2 separate regions of the Homo sapiens genome follow, and region 2 is linked to region 1. The links are contacts of gene promoters, found by promoter capture Hi-C in blood cells and fetal thymus (Javierre and others, 2016). All regions are on one chromosome and are shown on one strand. The core of a region is centred on a gene start or on the middle of the fragment in contact, and the rest is flanking DNA. Distances in the headings are between cores, read along the strand shown. Region 1 holds the start of LGALS1 (galectin 1). Region 2 holds the start of LOC124905115.

Region 1 (5,378 bases), core at 1,671-4,170:
CGTGCAAGGAAAGCAGGATTTCATCTCCCCAATTTACAGATAGGGAGACTGAGGCAAGTGGGAGAAGCAGCTTGCCAGGAGGCTCTGAGGGGACATAGCAAGCAGGGCCAGCACCCGCGTGTCTAGACTCCCAAATAGGCCTTTCTAGGGACCTCTTCACCATGCCACCCTGCCTCCCTGCCAGCCCCACTCATGCCAGACGCTGCAGAGGAGTAAATTGTCCCTCCATCCAACAGCAAACAGTCCCTGATGCCGGGCCCATTTTCCAGGGTGGAGGAGGATGCAGGAGCAGCTCCTGAGGCTACAAGAACCCAATTATTGGGCTGGGCTGGGAAAGTGGCCACACCCACCCGCCCGCAGCCCGGCGAGGACCACACCTGAAGCGCCTCTGACCCTCGGTCTAGGACTCCGCCTGAGATGCCCCATTCCTTGATCTGGCAGAGAGGGGAGGCATGGGGGAGGGGCAGTGGAACTAGGCTGGGCCCCATCCAGCCCTTCCTATGGTTGAGGTTTTGGGGAGGCCCGGAGGAAAAAGTGAAGCTGCTGTGGTTGGTTTCCAAGCAGCCACTTGGTCTGGAAGGAGGGGTAAGGCACTCACAGGGGTGCAACCCCATCCCCTCTCTGGGTCCGCCTTGCGGCCCTACACACTCCCCTCTCATCCTGTACCAGAGTGGGCTTTGGGCATCTGGAGGAAGGTGCCCCTGAGAGGCAGGGTGGGTGTGTTGGCCTGGCTTCCAGATGTGAGTCACTCCTGGTCCGCATCTTCGTCCCTCTTTGGTGCCAGCAGTTTCAGAAGGGGGACGGCCAGGTGGAGAAGGAGGTCCCCGTGACAACCCCCCAGCATGCCCCTCATTTTGCCCAGTGCTCCCCACGCCCCTTCCTCCACCAGGTTCCTGAGTGTAAGGTGAGCACCCCTCCCACCCACCCTCAATTCTCTGCCACAGTGATCTTCCCTAGAGCCCAAATCTGGCCTCAGTACTCACCCTCCCTCTAGCCCTGGCTCCCCAGCCTCCTCCCATACAACAATGTCCAAGCCCTGTGCCCAGCCCATGAGGCCCTCCATGGTCCAGGTCCTGTTGGCTTCCCAGCCTCATCCCCGTTTTTCCCCCACATGCCCGGAACACTGTTCTCCAGCCCTGGCCTTCTCATTCTGGAGCTTCTGCCCATGGTGGAAAGCCAGGCACTTCTCCGCCTACCCTTCACGACCCACCTCCTTTACTCATGCAGCCGCCAGCCCACCATAGCACTTTCTCATGGCTTCCCTTACAGCCATCATCATCTACTTCTTTTTATTTTTATTTTTATTTTTTATTTTTTTTAATTGAGACTGAGTTTCACTCTTATTGCCCAGGCTGGAGTGCAATAGACTGATCTCGGATCACTGCAACCTCTGCCTCCTGGGTTCAAGCGATTCTCCTGCCTCAGCCTCAGGAGTAGCAGGGATTACAGGCATATGCCACCATGCCCAGCTAATTTTGTATTTTTAGTAGAGATGGGGTTTCTCCGTGTTGGTCAGGCTAGTCTCGAACTCCTAACCTTAGGTGATCCGCCCGCCTCGGCTTCCTAAAGAGCTGGGATTACCGGCGTGAGCCACTGCGCCCAGCCCATCATCTACTTCTTAACGTGGTTGTGGTCAGATTCCACCCCAACTATGCGCTCCTTGAGAGTGGGGACTGGGAGGGGTTCAGCTTTGAATCCTCAGAGCCCAGGGCCAGGTACATAGTAGGTGCTCAGTAAAATACCTGCTGAACACTCAGGGAAGGGAGGGCTGTGCCGGGCCTCAGAGGAGATGTTAAGAGAGCAGACAGGGTGGCCAGGCATGGTGGCTCACACCTGTAATCCCATTACTTTGGGAGGCTGAGGCGGGTGGATCAACTGAGGTCAGGAGTTTGAGACCAGCCTGGCCAACGTGGTGAAACCCCGTCTCTACTAAAAGTACATAAATTAGCCGGGTGTGGTGGTGGGGGCCTGTAGTCCCAGCTACTCGGGAGGCTGAGGCAGGAGAATCAGTTGAACCTGGGAGGCAGAGGTTGCAGTGAGCTGAGATCACGCCACTGCACTCCAGCCTGGGCGACAGAGCGAGACTCCATCTCAAAAATAAATATATAAATAAATAAAAATAAAAAAGAGAAAGGACAGGGTGCACAGAGCCAGGACCCCACCCCCTCCTGGTCTGGACCACCCTGGGCCATCTCCTAAGCTTGACACTCTCAGGCCTGAGGCTGTCAGGCCAGGGCGCTTTGACTATCCCCTGCCTGCCCCTGAACGCGGCCAAGCCCGAGGCCTTAGCCAAGCCCTGCAGCCTCAGGCTTGGCGCCCGGCCCAGCCTTTCTTTAGCCTTCCCGAGGAGCCAGCGAGAGAGCGCTGCAGCAGCCGCAGTCCTTGCTTCCGGGGAAGGCCCGGGTGGGGCCAGGGCCTGTGGTTAAGTCAGTGGCCCTCTGCAGACGCGCACGCAGCAGGAGCCACGCCCTGGTCCCTGCCCGGGAGTGGCCTGGTCTCCCCCAGCTCTGATTCCCTGAAGGACCCTGCACCTCCTCAGCCATCTTCTCTGGGCACCCCCTGAGCCCAGCCTGCTGGCCACAGGCCCCTTCCCGCCAACTTGTGGGCCTAGCTCATCATCAAACTATTTTCCACTGGCTTCCCCCAATCTCTGCCACAGCACAATTTTGGTGGGGAGGTGGAGAGGGATGAAGGAGAATAGGAGGTGGAGCTTGGACTCTGGCCGGGGGCGGCGGGGTGAGGGGGGGCAGCAGCTCGCCACTCTGATTGGTCACCTCTGCTCCAAAACTGGCTTCAAAATTCCACGGACTCCGCCCCCAGTGGCCCCCAGCCCTATCCTGACTTGCAATTGGCTGAACTTTCAGGGGGCGGGGCTCACCCGGTCCGGTCCAGTTAAAAGGGTGGGAGCGTCCGGGGGCCCATCTCTCTCGGGTGGAGTCTTCTGACAGCTGGTGCGCCTGCCCGGGAACATCCTCCTGGACTCAATCATGGCTTGTGTGAGTGTGGGGACCCCCCCCCAAGGTCCAGGGGATAGGGCAGGAACTGATGGCCAGAGGAGAGCTGGGCAGATCGGGAGCAGATTCTAGCCCCAGCTGTGTGGCCTGGAACCAGTGCCTTCTCTTTTCTGGACCTCAGTGGCCACATCTGTAAAATGGGGGTGGGCGCCATGGTCCCTCAAGGCCTTCTCTGCATTGATAATTGTCTGGATTCCTCCAGGGTCTGAAAGCACAGTTATTTCTGCCCAGGGTTGACATTCTGCAGCTCTCTGAGAAGTGAGCGTGGGAAGGGTGTGGCCAACTGGGGGACACCCAGGCCACTATCCCTTTCCCCCTCCTCCACCCCAAAGAGCCTCCTGTCCCCTCCCCCCTGCAGCTGTCCCGGTCACCAGGCCAGGGCAGAGTTACCCTCTGCTCCAGAGAACGCTGAAAAGTTGCCAGGACCCGAGACAAGCTGCCCAGGATGGGCCCTTCTAGGTCGGGGGTGGAGGGTGGTTGTGTCCAGGCTGGTGGCGGGGGGGGCGGGGGAAATTCCCTTCCACCACCCCCAAGCTGGGAGGTTGGGGTGGCAGGGAGGTGAGAATCTTCCTCGGGCCCCAGGGAAAGGGTTCAAGTTTCTGGCAGAAGAAACCACTCAAACCAGTTAACTCTTGCCCACCCACTCGGGGTGCCAGGGAACAGCAGTGCCCAGCAGTTTGCTCAATCTTGTTAACCCTGAGCCAGCCCAGCCACAGCCCGACTGCAGGGCTATTCTCCCTAATGCAGAGAGGCCGTGTTTTTCAGGGTCTCCTCTCTAGCCCCTGGGCCTCTTTGCAGAGAGGGGCTTGAAGGAGAATAGTGGGGTCGCCCGCCCCTAGCCACTTCCTCTCCAGCAGAGGGGCCGGCCCCTCCATTCAGTGTGACGGTGGGCCAAGTGTCGGCCCCTCCCCAGCCTGATCCTCTCCATCTGCGATGGGACAGAGCACCCCATCTCCCAAGTCACTCTTGAGTCCAAAATTCCCAAGCCAATCTGCAAAATCTTCTAGAGCCTGTCTTCTAGAACCTTCACGTTACAGACTGAAGCCAACCCCGGTGGGAATAGGGACTTTCCCAGGACCACATAGACAATCGGAGGCTGGAAATTACAGCTCAATCCTTTCCCCAGGCTTCCCCTTGGCTTGGTCAGAGGATGCCGGGCGGGAACAACCCCACTCCCACCCCCAGCCACCCCCGGACACTTCGAGCAGTGGAGGCCTTGTCCTCTAACCCGGCTGGGCCGGGGCTTGTCTGTGCAGGGTCTGGTCGCCAGCAACCTGAATCTCAAACCTGGAGAGTGCCTTCGAGTGCGAGGCGAGGTGGCTCCTGACGCTAAGAGGTGAGAAGTGAAGTCGGGGTGGTGGGCGGCAGGGACGGGCTTGGTCCAGCAGGGAGGGCGTGGCCGGCCAAGCCCACATCTCCTCCCTGGCCGGGAGCGGGTTAACGGCCAGCCGCCGATGCTGCGTTTTCTGGGTGACTCACTTCCCCCGCAGGGTCTGGGCGCCCCCACCGTTGCCGCCCCCTCCCCCGCTCCCTCCCTGCTGTAGCCTCTTAAACTAAACCAGCTGCAGCCTCGTCATCTGTAATACCTTGACTCCCCCGCCCCCACCCCTTTCCGGTCTGGGCGGGACCTGTCGCTGGGGAGGGCGGGGAGAGGAGTGGGGCGGGCGTCACCGCCGCCTTCCCCCTGAGTCCCTCCTTCCTGCGTCTGGTCATTCATTCATTCACTGGCTCAGTCCGGTCCTTCTTCCTTCACTTCTCATTCACTCAGACGGCTGCCTTATTTTCTCGGCAGTTAGGTGACCTTGGACCAGTCAACCAACCTCACCTAGCCTCAGTTTGTTAGAAAAACAAGGGGGGAGGTGGTTGTGTGGAGGAAGTGAGATGCGGCTGGCGCAGTGACAGTGAGGAGGATGAGGATCAGCTGATATTGTTAAGAGCCGCACACTTCTCATGCACTAATTTCATTTCAACCAAACCCTCAGAGGCAGGTATTGCTATTATCACCACTCAACAAATGTATTTATTATTTTATTTATTTATTTATTATTTTATTATTTTATTTATTTATTTTTTGAGACACAGTCTCACCCTGTCGCCCAGGCTGGAGTGCAATGGCGTGATCTCGGCTCACCACAACCTCCGCCTCCCGGGTTCAAACGATTCTCCGGCTTCAGCCTCCTGAGTAGCCGGGATTACAGGGGCCCACCACAACGCCCAGCTAATTTATGTACTTTTAGTAGAGACGGGGTTTCACCATGTTGGCCAGGCTGGTCTCGAACTCCTGACCTCATGATCTGCCCGCTCGCCTCGGCCTCCCAAAGTGCTGGGGTTACAGGCATGAGCCACCGTGCCCGGGAGTATTAT
Region 2 (5,378 bases), core at 1,354-3,853, 71 kb after region 1:
GCCTCCCAGGTTCCAGCGATTCTCCTGCCTCAGCCTCCCAAGTAGCTGGGATCACAGCCATGTGCCACCACGCCCGGCTAATTTTTTGTATTTTTACCAGAGACGGGGTTTCACCATGTTGGCCAGCCTAGTCTCGAACTCCTGACCTCAGGTGATCCACCCGCCTCGGCCTCCTAAAGTGCTGAGATTACAGGCATAAACCACCGCGCCCAGCCTCCAGTGCTGTGCATCTCTTTATTTACTTATTGTATTTTGCAAAATTGACCAAAGTATGTGTCTCTCCAGCCTGTCAAATGAGAATCTGGAAGGCCAGGATGACAGGCAGGAGCCAGGTTGTGATGGTTCCTGACTGCCTAGAAGAGGAATGTAGCACTGATCTGTCAGCATTGGTGATGTGTGGAAGAACTTTGAGCAGGGAAGTGGTCTGGTCACTGTGTTGCGGGTACTAGGAGGAGTCGCAGGGGCCAGAAAAGCCTGGAGGAGGCTGGTGCTGTTAGGTGCCCAGGGCACTGGACCAGGACCCTGGTGGTAGGTGAGGTCTCCTGCGTGTTCATTCACTCTCCCAAGGACTGACTGCCTGAGTGAGGTGCAAGGGTAGGGTGAGAAAACTCAGCCCGGGGTGCCAGAAGGCCAGTTTCTAGAGTTAGATGGACTTAACCTTGGCCTCATTCCTCATGGTGGAGAGACTCCTGGCAGCAAATGCTGGGAAAGAACTTCAGCTCCCTGGGCCTCCATTTCTTTATCTGCAAAATGGGAACAGTAATTATAAAAGCAATAATTTTTTTTTTTGAGAGGGAGTCTCGCTCCGTCTCCCAAGGTGGAGTGCAGTGGCACAATCTCTGCTCACTGTAACCTCTGCCTCCCGGGTTCAAGCGATTCTCCTGCCTCAGCCTTTTACATAGCTGGATTACAGGCGCCTGACACCACGCCCGGCTAATTTTTGTATTTTTAGTAGAGACGGGGTTTCACCATGTTGGCCAGTCTGCTCTTGAACTCCTGATCTCAATGATCCACCCACCTCAGCCTCCCAAAGTGTTGGGATTACAGACCTGAACCACCGCGCCCGGCAAGGGCAATAATTTTTGAACCCCAAATCAAGATGACAGAATAATTGAAATGCCAATTATTCCAAGCTTCCCTGCCTCCTTGCCTAAGGATAGCTAATGAGGGATAAAGAGGTTGTCCTAGGTGCCTTACTTGAATTAACACTTAATCCTTCCAGCAACCTCATGAGGTAACAGCATTACCCCATTTTACAGAGAGTGAAATTGAGCACCGAGAGGTGCCTTGCTTAAGGTAACACTAGGCTGGAATCCCCGTGCCACACGAACTTCCTAGTGCATTTAGCAACCAATTCCACCACGGTCCCTACTCACCTGCAGGAAAAGAGCATCTAACAAACGGCCCAGCGTTCTGGGAACCTGAGCAACGGGTGCACGCCCACACCTGAAAAACCCCAAACCAAAAAAGACCCATTTGTGAGGAGTGGGCATTTGGGAGAGACCCTGCCATCCAAGAACTCACTTTGTGTCCAGCTTACTCGCTAGGAATTCCGCCTCTTCCTGTGTGACCTCGGGCAAATCGGCTCACCCCTCTGAGCCTCCGTTTTCTCATTAGCAAAATAAGACCTCCCTCCCAAGTCTGTGGTGAGGACGAAAATCGACTCTTGGCGAGTGGGACCCGCTGAGTCGTTAGTACTGGGTGCTTTGCCCCGGTCCCCGCCAAATCACGGCGCCGAGCCCTAGCGGACCCATCGCTCCGGGGCCGGGTCGGGAAGCGCAGCCTGGGCGAGTCGTGCCCACGCCCGGCCGCCCGCATCCTCCGCCCCCGCGCCATTGCCGGAGTCACCTGCACCCTGGGCCCTTCCTTCCTCCCAGCGCGCCCGCGGCCCGGGCCCGCCCGCCCTCCGGCCGCCACCGCCCTCCCTTCCCTGCGGCCCCATCCGCCCACCCCGCCGTCCCGCCGTCCCGCCGCCCCGCCGCCCTAGCGCGCCCGTCCCGTTGCGGCAGGTCCCGCCCCCGGCCCGTCTCGCGCTTCCATTGGCCCGCCGCGGCCCCCGCCGCTGTTTGTCTCGGCTTCCCCGCCACCCATTGGCCCGCTCGGGTCCTCCCAGGAAGTTTGAAAAAAAAAAAAAAAAAGTTTTATGGGCGGATGGAAGGGGCCGGGGCAGCGTCGGGGAAAGGAAGGGCCGGAGGCGCGGCGGCGGGCGGCCGAGAGGGGCGGCGGCGGCGGCGGCGGCGGGGTTCCCGCGCCGCGGAGCCCGGCCCGAGAGCCGCGTCCACGTTCCTGCCTCCTGCTCCCGCCGCCCTGGGGCGCCGCCATGACGGTGAGTGCCCCAGTCAGCCGCCCGCGCCCGAGGCCGGGAGAAGGGCGACGACCCGAGGCAGAGCCCAGCCTCTCCCCTCCGGGGCAGCCCCCTCCTCATTTCCCGAAGGCGAGAGGAGGGCTGGGCCGGAAGACGGGGCCACCTCCGAAGCGCTTTCGGCCAGACCGGCCTCACCCTTCCCGCAGGCTCCTCCTCGCCTTCCCTCGCCCACTCGCCCCCGGGAGCCCAGGCGACCCTGAGGGGACGGAACGACCCGTCTCGGGCGCCCCCTCCTCACACTTGCGGCACCAGTCACGGGTGGATTCGGGGCGACCCTTTCCCACCTCCCCTCCAGCCCCCTAGACGAAGACCCGATTCCCCAAGGCGGCCAGGGGCCCCAGGGAGGAGCGGAGGTGGGCCTGGGCTGGGGAGGGGCGCTCGTGGGTGCGGATGGGTCGCGCTGACCCGGGCCTGGGCAAGCCAGCCCTCCGTGTGGCCGCTGGCCCGAGGTCGGGTGGGCGAGAAGTGGCCGGACCGCCCCACCCACAGCCCGGGAGGCAGTCCCGGGACGTCTGAAGCAGCGGGATACCACGTCTTCCTGGGCTTGCACTTTGCAGCGGTCCTGGGGCCTTGGGACAAGCCTGCGAGTCTGAGTAGGGGGCATGATGGCAGGGGTTTGCCTTTCTCATGGGGGTGAGCTGTACCCAAGCCCCATCAATTACCTGTGCCATAGTTAGCATATTGAGCCTCACAGCTGGGTTCGCTGGACTCCCCACTTCACAGCCAGATAAACTGAGGCTTGGGGAGGGGCGCTGGTGAGTTGCCCGAGGTCACCCCAAGTATAAGAGAAGGAGTAGCTCCTTTCCCTGTCCTTCTGGCCCACTGACCGTGATGTTCGGGAAGGGAGGGGTGGGGCTGCTTTTGGTTTCTGGCTAGTGCTTCAGGGAGGCTCTGACAGCCCAGTGGCCCTCCTGGGGGAGGATGAGCAGGGTGTGTGTGTGCACAGGCGGCAGTAGGCCTCTTTCAGGGGAGTGGAGACCCTGCGGAGGAGTGGGTGGGCTGCTGGGGGCGGGCTGGGCTGCTGGGGGGCGTGGCACGCCTAGCCCCTGCCCTGTGAGTGTGATGGCCTGGACTTCCTCGGCGTCCTCCTGGACATCCTGCCACCTCCCTGCTGGCCCTTCCTGTCGTCAGCAGCCTCCCCTTTTCTGTCAGGAGCAGAAGGGATGTGGGGGGAGGAGCTGAGTCAGTGTCCTGGGGCCAGGAGGAGAGAAGTTGCCTTGCCCACCGGGTGCCTGCCCGGCCCTCAGCCGGGTGCTTTCACGTTACCAGATTTGATCCTTGAAGGTTGGTAGTAACATCTTAATCAAACAGATGAGGAAACCAAGGTGTGGCGAGGTGAAGTGTCATGCCCCAGGTAACTCAGTGAGTCCCAGGCTAAGCCAGAATTTGTATCCAGGTCCGTTCCAGCTTTCTTTCACAGTTGCCTGTCCTGGGGGCAGCACGTGCTGAGCAAGGGTAAGGCTGCCGGAAGCAGCGTGTGGGGTGCTTGGAAGATGGACAGCACATCCCTGCTGGTGGCAGCAGCCTTCCTGAGGGAGGTGTCCTCCTGTGATTATAGGGCCTTGTCAGGTGGAGATGGACTAGCGAGGAGACAGCAGTGTGGACAGAAACGGGTGGTCATGTTTGAGAAGTAGCAAGAGCGTAGGGAAGGGGTCTGGGGAGGAGGGCCTCACTGCTAGGGCTTGGACAGGGGCAATAGAGAGCCATGAAAGCTTTTAGAGCAGAGAGGAGGCTATGATCACCATTAATAGTGTTCATTGAGTTCATCCTGGCTGCCATGCAGACCTCAGCCTGCTCTCAGCTGGTGCTCCTCCTGTACCCACCTCACACCCTCCTCCCCTGGCCCCCGTGCCCTGAATCAGGGATCCATACAGAGCAAGTGGCACAGGTGTGTGAGTGTGTGAGGCTCCGGGGCTTCAGGGAGTTGGGATTCTCTTCCACCCCTTTTGCCTTTGCCTGGGTGCAGCTTTGCTCCCGGATCAGCCTTCCCCCTCGCCTGCTGGGCATCAAATTATATTTGGTCCCTTGTTTACTGTCTCTTTCCTACAGTCCACCAGGGCAGGGGCCACAGCTCTTGGTCACAGCTAATTTCCTGGCCTAGAACAGTGCCTGATAACTTTAAAAAAAAATTTTTTTTTCTGCAAACACTCCCTGAGCCCCTATCTGTGCTGGGTCCTGGCAGGTAAACAGTGTATGTCCCTGACTGTGAGTTGCATCTAATCTAGCCTGTGAAGGATAAGTAAAGGGCCTCAAGATAGTCACGGATGCAACAGAGGCCTCTGAGAGGGGCCATGGGAGGGCAGGACGGGGGCGGCTGGTGGTGCGGTGAGTGGCATGAACTGTGAAGGGACCTCAGAGGTGGCCATTAAGCTGGGTCTTAAGGCCTGAGTAGCCGCTTGCCTAGTCATCGGAGGAGGAGGAAGCATAGTGTTTCAGGCCAAGGACATGGCACATATGAAGGGCCCGGAGTCCTGGTGTGTTGTGATCGGCAAGGAATATGCAGTGGTATAAACAGGGGCCCCTCAGCAAGGGGAGGCCAGGCTGGAAGAGTGTGATGAGGCTTCCCTGCCATCCTGAGGCAGCTGGACTTTGTTTTAAAGCCACCTGGAGACCGGGTGTAGTGGCTTATGTGTGCCTGTAATCCCAGCATTTTGGGAGGCTGAGGTGGATGGATCACTTGAGGTCAGGAGTTCGAGACCAGCCTGGCCAGCATGGTGAAATCCCATCTCTACTAAAAATAAAAAAATTTGCTGGACATGGTGGTGGGTGCTTGTAATCTCAGGTATTTGGGAGGCTGAGGCAGGAGAAACGCTTCAACCCGGGAGGTGGAGGTTGCAGTAAGCCGAGATGGCGCCATTGCACTCCAGCCTGGGCAGCAGAGACTCTGTCTCAAAAATAAAGCAAGCCACCTGGAGCCGTCCCTGGAACTGTTAAGCAAGCCTGGGATACCAAGCCTTTTTGAGTGAGTCCCGCCAGCCCGAGGGTGTGTAGAGGGGTTGTGTGCCTGGCCAGG

What was found. Contacts are between HindIII fragments. The CHiCAGO score rates a contact against its expected background, and 5 or more counts as called.
Region 2: a fragment that was not itself captured here is called in contact with the fragment with the promoter of LGALS1 in region 1 in 2 of 17 cell types (endothelial precursors and M0 macrophages); the score reaches 5.5 in endothelial precursors.

What each region holds. Positions count from the first base shown.
Region 1 is chr22:37,672,716-37,678,093 of GRCh38, forward strand. It overlaps LGALS1 (galectin 1), which reads left to right and starts at 2,921. Exons shown (of 4, transcript NM_002305.4): 1 at 2,921-2,996; 2 at 4,271-4,350. The coding sequence starts at 2,988. RefSeq lists silencers at 2,724-2,863, 4,384-4,893 and an enhancer at 4,737-5,378. The HindIII fragment of the contact is 13,088 bases long and covers 2,199-5,378 here.
Region 2 is chr22:37,744,095-37,749,472 of GRCh38, forward strand. All of the region lies in intron 11 of TRIOBP (TRIO and F-actin binding protein), which reads left to right. It overlaps LOC124905115, which reads right to left and starts at 3,205. Exons shown (of 3, transcript XM_047441691.1): 1 at 3,028-3,205. The coding sequence starts at 3,045. It overlaps LOC102724378 (a long non-coding RNA gene), which reads right to left and starts at 1,850. Exons shown (of 3, transcript NR_160697.1): 1 at 1,525-1,850; 2 at 1,377-1,446; 3 at 216-743. RefSeq lists silencers at 1,710-2,009, 2,350-2,579, 2,800-2,909. The HindIII fragment of the contact is 2,944 bases long and covers 1,132-4,075 here.